3 separate regions of the Homo sapiens genome follow, and regions 1 and 2 are each linked to region 3. Evidence: promoter capture Hi-C in 16 types of primary human blood cells and fetal thymus (Javierre and others, 2016). All regions are on one chromosome and are shown on one strand. The core of a region is centred on a gene start or on the middle of the fragment in contact, and the rest is flanking DNA. Distances in the headings are between cores, read along the strand shown. Region 1 overlaps MYH14 (myosin heavy chain 14). Region 2 overlaps IZUMO2 (IZUMO family member 2). Region 3 holds the start of GPR32 (G protein-coupled receptor 32).

Region 1 (2,700 bases), core at 44-2,543, 520 kb before region 3:
CCTGAATGCTTTCGGGATAACTTTTCAGGTTATTCACAAGAAACTCTACTGGGATCCCTTCCCTCCCTCCCTCCCTCCCTCCCTCCCTCCTTCCCTCCCTCCTTCCTTCCTTCTTTTAGATAGAACTGTACTGGGATTCCCTCGCTCCCTCCCTCCCTTCCTCCTGCCCTCCCTCCTTCCTTCTTTTAGATAGAACTCTACTGGGATTCCCCCCCTCCCTCCCTCCCTCCCTTCCTTTCTTCCTTCCTTCCTTCCTTCCCTCCTTCCTTCCTTCCTTCCATCTTTCCTCTTTTAAATGAAGTCTCGCCCAGACTGGAGTGCAGTGGCACCATCTCAGCTCACTGCAACCTCTACCTCCTGGGTTCAAGCGATTCTCCCTGCCTCAGCCTCCCAAGTATCTGGGATTACAGGCACGCACCACCATGTCGGGCTAATTTTTGTATTTTTAGTACAGACGGGGTTTCACCATGTTGGCCAGGTTGGTCTCAAACTCCTGACCTCAGGTGATCCGCCCACCTTGGCCTCCCGAAGGGCCTCCCTGGGATTACGGGCGTGAGCCACCGTGCCCCGCCTCCAGTGTAGCTTTTAGTGACTGCAGAACATTCTTTCAAATGGGCCAGGCACCTGTAATCCCAGCTACTCAGGAGCTGAGGCAGGAGAATCACTTGAACCAGGGAGGCGGAGGTTGTAGTGAGCTGAGATTGCATCACTGCACTCCAGTCTGGGTGATAAGAGCCAAACTCTGTCTCAAACAAAACAAAACAAAACAAACAAAAAAACCATCAGAACATTCTTTCAAATGAATGAAGCCCGACCCATCTAACCAATTCCCGCTTCTTGGGCACTGAGGTTGTTTCCTAGCTTTCTCCGATTATAAACAACACTGCGCTGAACATCCTTGTGGCACGGTCTTTGCTCACATGCAGGGTTATTTTGCCAGTGCTGGTTCCTGGAAAAAAAATAGTTGGGCAGAGAATGTACACACTTTTGGGACTCGTAATGCCTCTCCTGGGAAAGGCGGGGCCCGTCTTCTGCTCCCCCAACAGTGTGGGAAACGGTACCCTCTCCCTTGCTGGGCAGCAAGCACCTCTTCCCAGTGCTGATGGAATCTTGGTGCCTCTCGCCCTCAGCTGCACAGAAGCTCTGCCGCCTCTTGGGACTGGGGGTGACGGATTTCTCCCGAGCCTTGCTCACCCCTCGCATCAAAGTTGGCCGAGACTATGTGCAGAAAGCCCAGACTAAGGAACAGGTAGGCGGGGCTGGCGGTGGGCAGGCACAGAAAGAGCCGCGCACCCCGGCCCTGGGTCTTTAAACAGTGTATGCTGTTTTTCCCACCACTCAACAGACTTTTGCTGAGTGCCCGCTCCGTTACCGATCCTGGTCTAGGTGCCAGGCGTAAAAGCAGTCATCGAAACAAATAACCAGGCCCTCAGGGACCTCAAGTTATAGTAAGGAAATGGATAATAAAAGTTCAACAGGATGTGTCTGGGAGTGGTGGCTCACACCTGTAATCCCAGCACTTTGGGAGGCCAAGGTGGGAGGATTGCTTGAGCCCGGGAGTTTGAGGCTGCAGCGAGCTGTAATTGCGCCACTGCACTCCAGCCTGGGTGACAGACTGAGACTCTGTCTCTAAAAAAATTAAAAAATTTAATAATAATTTAAAAAAACAGGATGTAAATGCAACATGGTATCCTAGAAAAACAAAAAACAAAAACCCAGGATGCTTTTAGATGGTGAGAGCACCTGTGAAGGGGAGGTTTTGTTGGTCAGGAAAGTCCTCTCTAAGGAAGCTCTAAGGATGAAACATTCGAGATGAGACCTAGATGGTTCGAGGCAGACGGAACCGCAAGTGTAAAGGCCCTGGGGGTGGAGCAGGCTTGGGGAGTTGGGAACATTAAGCAGGTCAGTGAGGCCGGGTGTGGGGGCTCATGCCTGTAATCCCAGCTCTTTGGGAGGCTGAGGCGGACAGATTGAGCTCAGGAGTTCAAGATCAGCCTGGGCAACATGGTGAATCTCCGTCTCTACTAAAATACAAAAATTAGCTGGGTATGTGGCACACGCCTGTAGTCCCAGCTACTTGGGAGGCTGAGACACGAGGATCACTTGAACCTAGGAGGCAGAGGTTGCAGTGAGCTGAGAGCACGCCACTGCACTTCAGCCTGGGTGACAGAGCGAGACTCTGTCTCAAAAAAAAAAAAAAAAAGAAAAGAAAAAAAGAAAATTGAAGGAGGTCAGGTCAGTGAGGCTGAAGAGCAAGGGAGAGAGGGTGGGTGAATCCACAGTCAGAAATGTCAGCAAGGGGCAGATCATGCAGGGTCTTAGGGGCCACAGTAAGGAGGTGAGTTTTATTCAAACTACATAGGAGGCCATTGAGGTTTTAAGCCAGGGAGTGACTTGATTCAGTTTGTCTTTCATAGAAAGATCCCCTTGGCTGCTGCATGGAGAATTGGGTTCAGGGATGCAGGTAGAGGCGGGGAGACCTAAGGAGGCTGCATCCAGAGTCTTGGCAATCGTGGGAGCTCACACCATGAGCAGGGAGGGTGGAGTGGAGCGACCACAGGCCAGGGAGGGTTTCAGAATCCAGCTTTTGGGCAGAGGCCTCTGCTGGCCCCAGGCTGGGCAGTGAGGTACCTGGATGAAGACCCCGTGGGGGAGATGAGGAGTCTGGGAGCCACACTGACCCGGGTTCAATCTCAGCTG
Region 2 (2,700 bases), core at 4-2,503, 620 kb before region 3:
TGGCAGAGCAGGACTCTGTCTCAAAAAAAAAAAAAAAAAAGAAAAGAAAAAGAAAGAAAATGTATTCGAATCTAGTATTCAGGTGCACAGAGGGTGAAGAATTGTAGTTCAGATAGAGAAGAAAACCTGTACCTTCCACATTGACCACTGCTCTTCCTCTATTTAACCATCCTCGAGGGTTGCACTGAGTCATGTCCTTTCGGATGCATTTCCTTCCCAGAGGATAAGTGGTTGTCACTTCAAACCCTTACAATATGCTGTCCATCCTTTTTGAAGGTCCAAGTCACTTCTACCTTGAATTAGGATAATGGGTGTCTACAGATGAGTGGGATCTGGTCCCAGCCTTTGAGGAGCACCCAGTCAGGTAGAGAAACAGAGTTGGACACCAACTAGGGGGAGGGTCCCCAGGAAATGGACAGAGACATTGATGGATTTGTCACCAATTTTATTAAATTTATTTTCCTTTCTCCTTACCCCCAAACCACCGTCCTACTGCAGCAGGAGTTTTCGGTTTTGTCTGTATGTACAAGCCCTGGTCAGAGAGAAAAAGCCTGTAGATTAGAATGAGAATTTCAAGCTTTTCCAGATCAAGAGACCCATAACTTCCCTCCCCATAACTTTCCTACAATCTTTGGCCTGATTTGGCTCATCCAGTGACGTCATGGGCATCTGGGCAGATTTTCAGGGTTCTCTGCCAACCGGAGTTGGTGAGGAGAGAGGAGAGAAGAGCTGGGACCAGGGGTGATGGTCAAATGTGGGAACAGAAAGAGTCCAAAAAGACAAGAGGAGACACAGGCAGAAATGGAGAGAGATAAGGTAGAGACAGGGTATAGTGGAAGCAGGTATAGTGGGTTACAGCGTGTCCCCCACCCCAAAGATATATCCAAGTCCCAACTCCTAGGACCTGGGAATGTGACCTTAATTGGAAACACGGTCTTTGCAGATGTAATTAAGTTAAGGTGACATGAGATTTAGGATGGGCCCTACATCTAAAGACAGGTGTCCTTAGAAGAGAAAGGAGAGGGAGATTTGAGATGGACACACAGAAAACAAAACCATGTGAAGACAGAGGAAGGGATTAGAAGGGAGCTAAGGAATGCCAGCAGCCACCAGCAGCTAGGACACAGGCATGGGGTGGATTCACTCTCAGAGGCTCTGGAAGGAACCAACTTTGCCAACCTCTTGATTTCAGACTTCTGCTTTCAGAACCCAGAGAATACATTTCTTTTGCTTTAAGTCACCCAATTTGTGGTGATGTTACAGCAGCAATAGGAAATGAATACACAGGGAGACAGAGAAATGAGGAGAGAGAGTTGGAAGAGAGGCTGAGCAAGTTCACAGTGAGAGGTAGCCTGCACGGAGCACTCCCCATGCGCTAAGTGTTATTAACAGCGTTCACTGGCCAGGCGCGGTGACTCATGACTGTAATCCCAGCACTTTGGGAGGATGAGGCAGGTGGATCACCTGAAGTCAGGAGTTTGAGACCAGCCTGGCCAACATGGCGAAACCCCGTCTCTAATGAAAATATAACAATTAGCCAGGCTTGGTGGTGGGCACCTGTAGTCCCAGCTACTCAGGAGGCTGAGGCAGAAGAATCGCTTGAACCTGAGAGGCAGCGGTTGCAGTGAGCCAAGGTCGCAAGATCGCGCCATTGCACTCCAGCTTGGGCCACAGAGCGAGACTCCATCTCAAGAAAAAAAAAAAAAAGAGCGTTCACTGATTCAGTTATCACCACCCCCGCCAGTGGGAGGTGATGGCATTACTCCCTTTTTGCATATGAAGAAACTGAGGCGTTAGGGAAAGGAGATTAATTGGGTACTTGGAGGAGGCAGAGAGAGAGAGAGAGAAATTGAGACGGAGAGGGGAAGAGAGGGGCCGGAGAAGGGGCTGGGGGGGAGGGGGAGGGCACAAGCATAAAGAGGCAGCGAGATAAGCTTAGAGGGGGAGAGGAAGGTGAGGGCCACTTCCTCCCTAGGCACAGGGCCTGGGGTCCATGGAAATGTTTTCACTGTAGTATCTTTAAAAGCCAGAAGAAGATAAATGAATATAACAACAGTAATTATGATGATGCATAGAACATAATGAAGCCAACTTGGATGATATTTGTCTTTCTACCAATGCATCCACCAAATATAACTTTTAGCGTTTTTTTTTTTTTTTTTTTTTTTTTTTTTTTTTAATGTAAGAAGAGGCCCACAAAGGCAAAAGTGCTGAGGACCCGGGAAAGTTGTAATGTGGCCCAGAGGTGGAGAAAAAGGAAAATGAGGAAGAAAGACAGAAATAAGATGAGAGAAAGGTACGGGGCAGGGGGCGGGAGGGAGAAGAGGGAGGAGAGAGACAGAGAGAAAAAGAGAGACAGAGACTAAAGTGACTGAAGAGGAGACTCCCAAAGTACACAGTGACCCATCCAGGGGAGTCGCCATTTTTGAGGGGCCCAGTGGGTTCCACGGGGGACTGAGGAGGGGGCAAGGATGACTCACGAGACCACGATGACCACGAAGACAAAGACAGCCAGAGACACAGAAATGAGGATGCCCAACAGCGCCTGGTTCCTCGGGTATTTGCTGTCCATCTGGTACTGCAGGGCCACGCGGGGTTGCCGGTCGACTGGGGCGGGTGGGGAAACAGCCCCGACCTCCACGTCACCACCCCTCCTTAGCCCCATACCCACCCCACCTGTTCATTCAGCAGCCTGGGGCA
Region 3 (2,736 bases), core at 91-2,590:
AACTCCTGAACTTAAGTGATCCACCAGCCTCAGCCTCCCAAAGTGCTGGGATTACAGGAATGAGCCACTACGCCCATCTCACGGCTAATTTTTAAATTTTATTTTATTTTTATTTTTTTGAGACGGAGTTTCGCTCTCGTTACCCAGGCTGGAGTGCAGTGGCGCGATCTTGATTCACTGCAACCTCCGCCTCCCAAGTTTAAGTGATTCTTCAGCCTCATGAGTAGCTGGGATTACAGGTGGCTGCCACCACACCCAGCTAATGTTTTTTGTATTTTTAGTAGAGACGGGGTTTCGCCATGCTGGGCAGGCTGATCTCGAACTCCTGACCTCAGGTGATCCGCCTACCTCAGCCTCCCAAAGTGCTGGGATTACAGGCGTGAGCCACTGTGCATGGCCACAAAAACTTGTAATTATTTATTTTTTGTAGAGACGGTCTCACTATGTTGCCCACCTTGGTTTGGAACTCCTGGCTTCAAGCAATCCTTCTGCCTCAGCCTCCCAAAGTGTTGTGATTACAAGCATGAGCCACCACACCTGGCCCCTCCATTTCATTTATTATTTTTCCATAACACTTGTAGTCTTCTAAAGCAGTATATCATGAAGTAAATTTATTATATGTATTACACCTGACATCTCTCACTGGGATGTAAGTTCCATGAGGGCTTGTTTTGTTACACGAGTTATGTCCAGTACTTAGAACAATATTATAGTGTCCAGTGAGCCGAGATCGTGCCATTGCACTGCAGCCTGGGTGACATAAGGAGACTCTGTCTCAAAAAAAAAAAAAAAAAAAGAACAATATTATTGTGTCATAAAAAGCATTCAGGCTGGGCTCAATGGCTCACACTTGTAATCCCAGCACTTTGGGAGGCTGAGGTGGGAGGATCACTTGAAGCCAGGAGTTCAAGACCAGCCTGGGCAACACAGCAAAACCCCATCTCTACAAAAAAGAATTTAAGGCCTGGCAGAGTGGCTCACACCTATAATCCCAGCACTTTGGGAGGCTGGTGGACGGGTCACGAGGTCAGTAGTTCAAGACCAGCCTGGCCAACATGGTAAAACCCTGTCTCTACTAAAAACAGAAAAATTAGCCAGGTGTGGTGGCATGTGCCTGTAGTTCCAGCTACTTGGGAGGCTGAGGCAGGAAAATTGCTTGAACCTTGGAGGTGGAGGTTGCAGTGAGCCGAGATCATACCATTGCACTACAGCCTGGGTGACAGAGAGAGCAAGACTCTGTGTCAAAAAAAAAAAAAAAAAAAAAAGGTAAAAAAATTAGCCAGGCATGGTGGTAAGTGCCTGTAGTCCCAGCTACTCCAGGAGGCTGAGGGGGGAGGATCTCTTGAGCCTAGGAGGTGGAGGCTGCAGTGATCTGTGATTGTACCTTTGCACTCCAGCCTGGGTGACAGAGCATGACGCTGTCTCTAAAAGAATAATAATAATAAGCATTCCATAAAAATTATGGAATGGAGAAATCATGAATGGGGTCTCGGAGGGGACCAGAGGCTGCAGTGACAGGCAACCTGGGGTCCTGACACGTGATCGCTCTTGTTCCAGGAAGATGAACTCTTCCGGATGCCTGTCTGAGGAGGTGGGGTCCCTCCGCCCACTGACTGTGGTTATCCTGTCTGCGTCCATTGTCGTCGGAGTGCTGGGCAATGGGCTGGTGCTGTGGATGACTGTCTTCCGTATGGCACGCACGGTCTCCACCGTCTGCTTCTTCCACCTGGCCCTTGCCGATTTCATGCTCTCACTGTCTCTGCCCATTGCCATGTACTATATTGTCTCCAGGCAGTGGCTCCTCGGAGAGTGGGCCTGCAAACTCTACATCACCTTTGTGTTCCTCAGCTACTTTGCCAGTAACTGCCTCCTTGTCTTCATCTCTGTGGACCGTTGCATCTCTGTCCTCTACCCCGTCTGGGCCCTGAACCACCGCACTGTGCAGCGGGCGAGCTGGCTGGCCTTTGGGGTGTGGCTCCTGGCCGCCGCCTTGTGCTCTGCGCACCTGAAATTCCGGACAACCAGAAAATGGAATGGCTGTACGCACTGCTACTTGGCGTTCAACTCTGACAATGAGACTGCCCAGATTTGGATTGAAGGGGTCGTGGAGGGACACATTATAGGGACCATTGGCCACTTCCTGCTGGGCTTCCTGGGGCCCTTAGCAATCATAGGCACCTGCGCCCACCTCATCCGGGCCAAGCTCTTGCGGGAGGGCTGGGTCCATGCCAACCGGCCCAAGAGGCTGCTGCTGGTGCTGGTGAGCGCTTTCTTTATCTTCTGGTCCCCGTTTAACGTGGTGCTGTTGGTCCATCTGTGGCGACGGGTGATGCTCAAGGAAATCTACCACCCCCGGATGCTGCTCATCCTCCAGGCTAGCTTTGCCTTGGGCTGTGTCAACAGCAGCCTCAACCCCTTCCTCTACGTCTTCGTTGGCAGAGATTTCCAAGAAAAGTTTTTCCAGTCTTTGACTTCTGCCCTGGCGAGGGCGTTTGGAGAGGAGGAGTTTCTGTCATCCTGTCCCCGTGGCAACGCCCCCCGGGAATGATGGAAGACTTCAGCTGGAAGCTGGAAGCCGTCCTTCTTAGTTTGCTTGTGGCCTCTTACCTTGACTGGCTTCTAAAACCCTGCCAAATCCTGCCTCTTCTTTCAGGAAGTCTTCCAGCAACCCCTCATCTAAAGCTCTGTGGTAGAGACAGCTACTTACTCCCCAGTGTCCATTCTTCCCCGCCCCCC

Evidence for each region. The method cuts DNA at HindIII sites, captures the fragments that hold promoters and counts their contacts. A CHiCAGO score of 5 or more calls a contact.
Region 1: a fragment that was not itself captured here is called in contact with the fragment with the promoter of GPR32 in region 3 in 8 of 17 cell types (total B cells, naive B cells, activated CD4 T cells and 5 more); the score reaches 12.2 in total B cells.
Region 2: a fragment that was not itself captured here is called in contact with the fragment with the promoter of GPR32 in region 3 in 1 of 17 cell types (total B cells); the score reaches 5.1 in total B cells.

What each region holds. Positions count from the first base shown.
Region 1 is chr19:50,245,874-50,248,573 of GRCh38, forward strand. It overlaps MYH14 (myosin heavy chain 14), which reads left to right. Exons shown (of 43, transcript NM_001145809.2): 12 at 1,131-1,249. Among named protein-coding and RNA genes, the nearest start is that of MYH14, 44 kb to the left of the region's middle. The HindIII fragment of the contact is 6,027 bases long and covers 1-2,700 here.
Region 2 is chr19:50,152,120-50,154,819 of GRCh38, forward strand. It overlaps IZUMO2 (IZUMO family member 2), which reads right to left. Exons shown (of 7, transcript NM_152358.3): 6 at 2,481-2,607; 7 at 429-532. The coding sequence ends at 490. Among named protein-coding and RNA genes, the nearest start is that of IZUMO2, 9.8 kb to the right of the region's middle. The HindIII fragment of the contact is 1,357 bases long and covers 576-1,932 here.
Region 3 is chr19:50,769,124-50,771,859 of GRCh38, forward strand. It overlaps GPR32 (G protein-coupled receptor 32), which reads left to right and starts at 1,341. Exons shown (of 1, transcript NM_001506.2): 1 at 1,341-2,609. The coding sequence starts at 1,478. The coding sequence ends at 2,548. The HindIII fragment of the contact is 17,473 bases long and covers 1-2,736 here.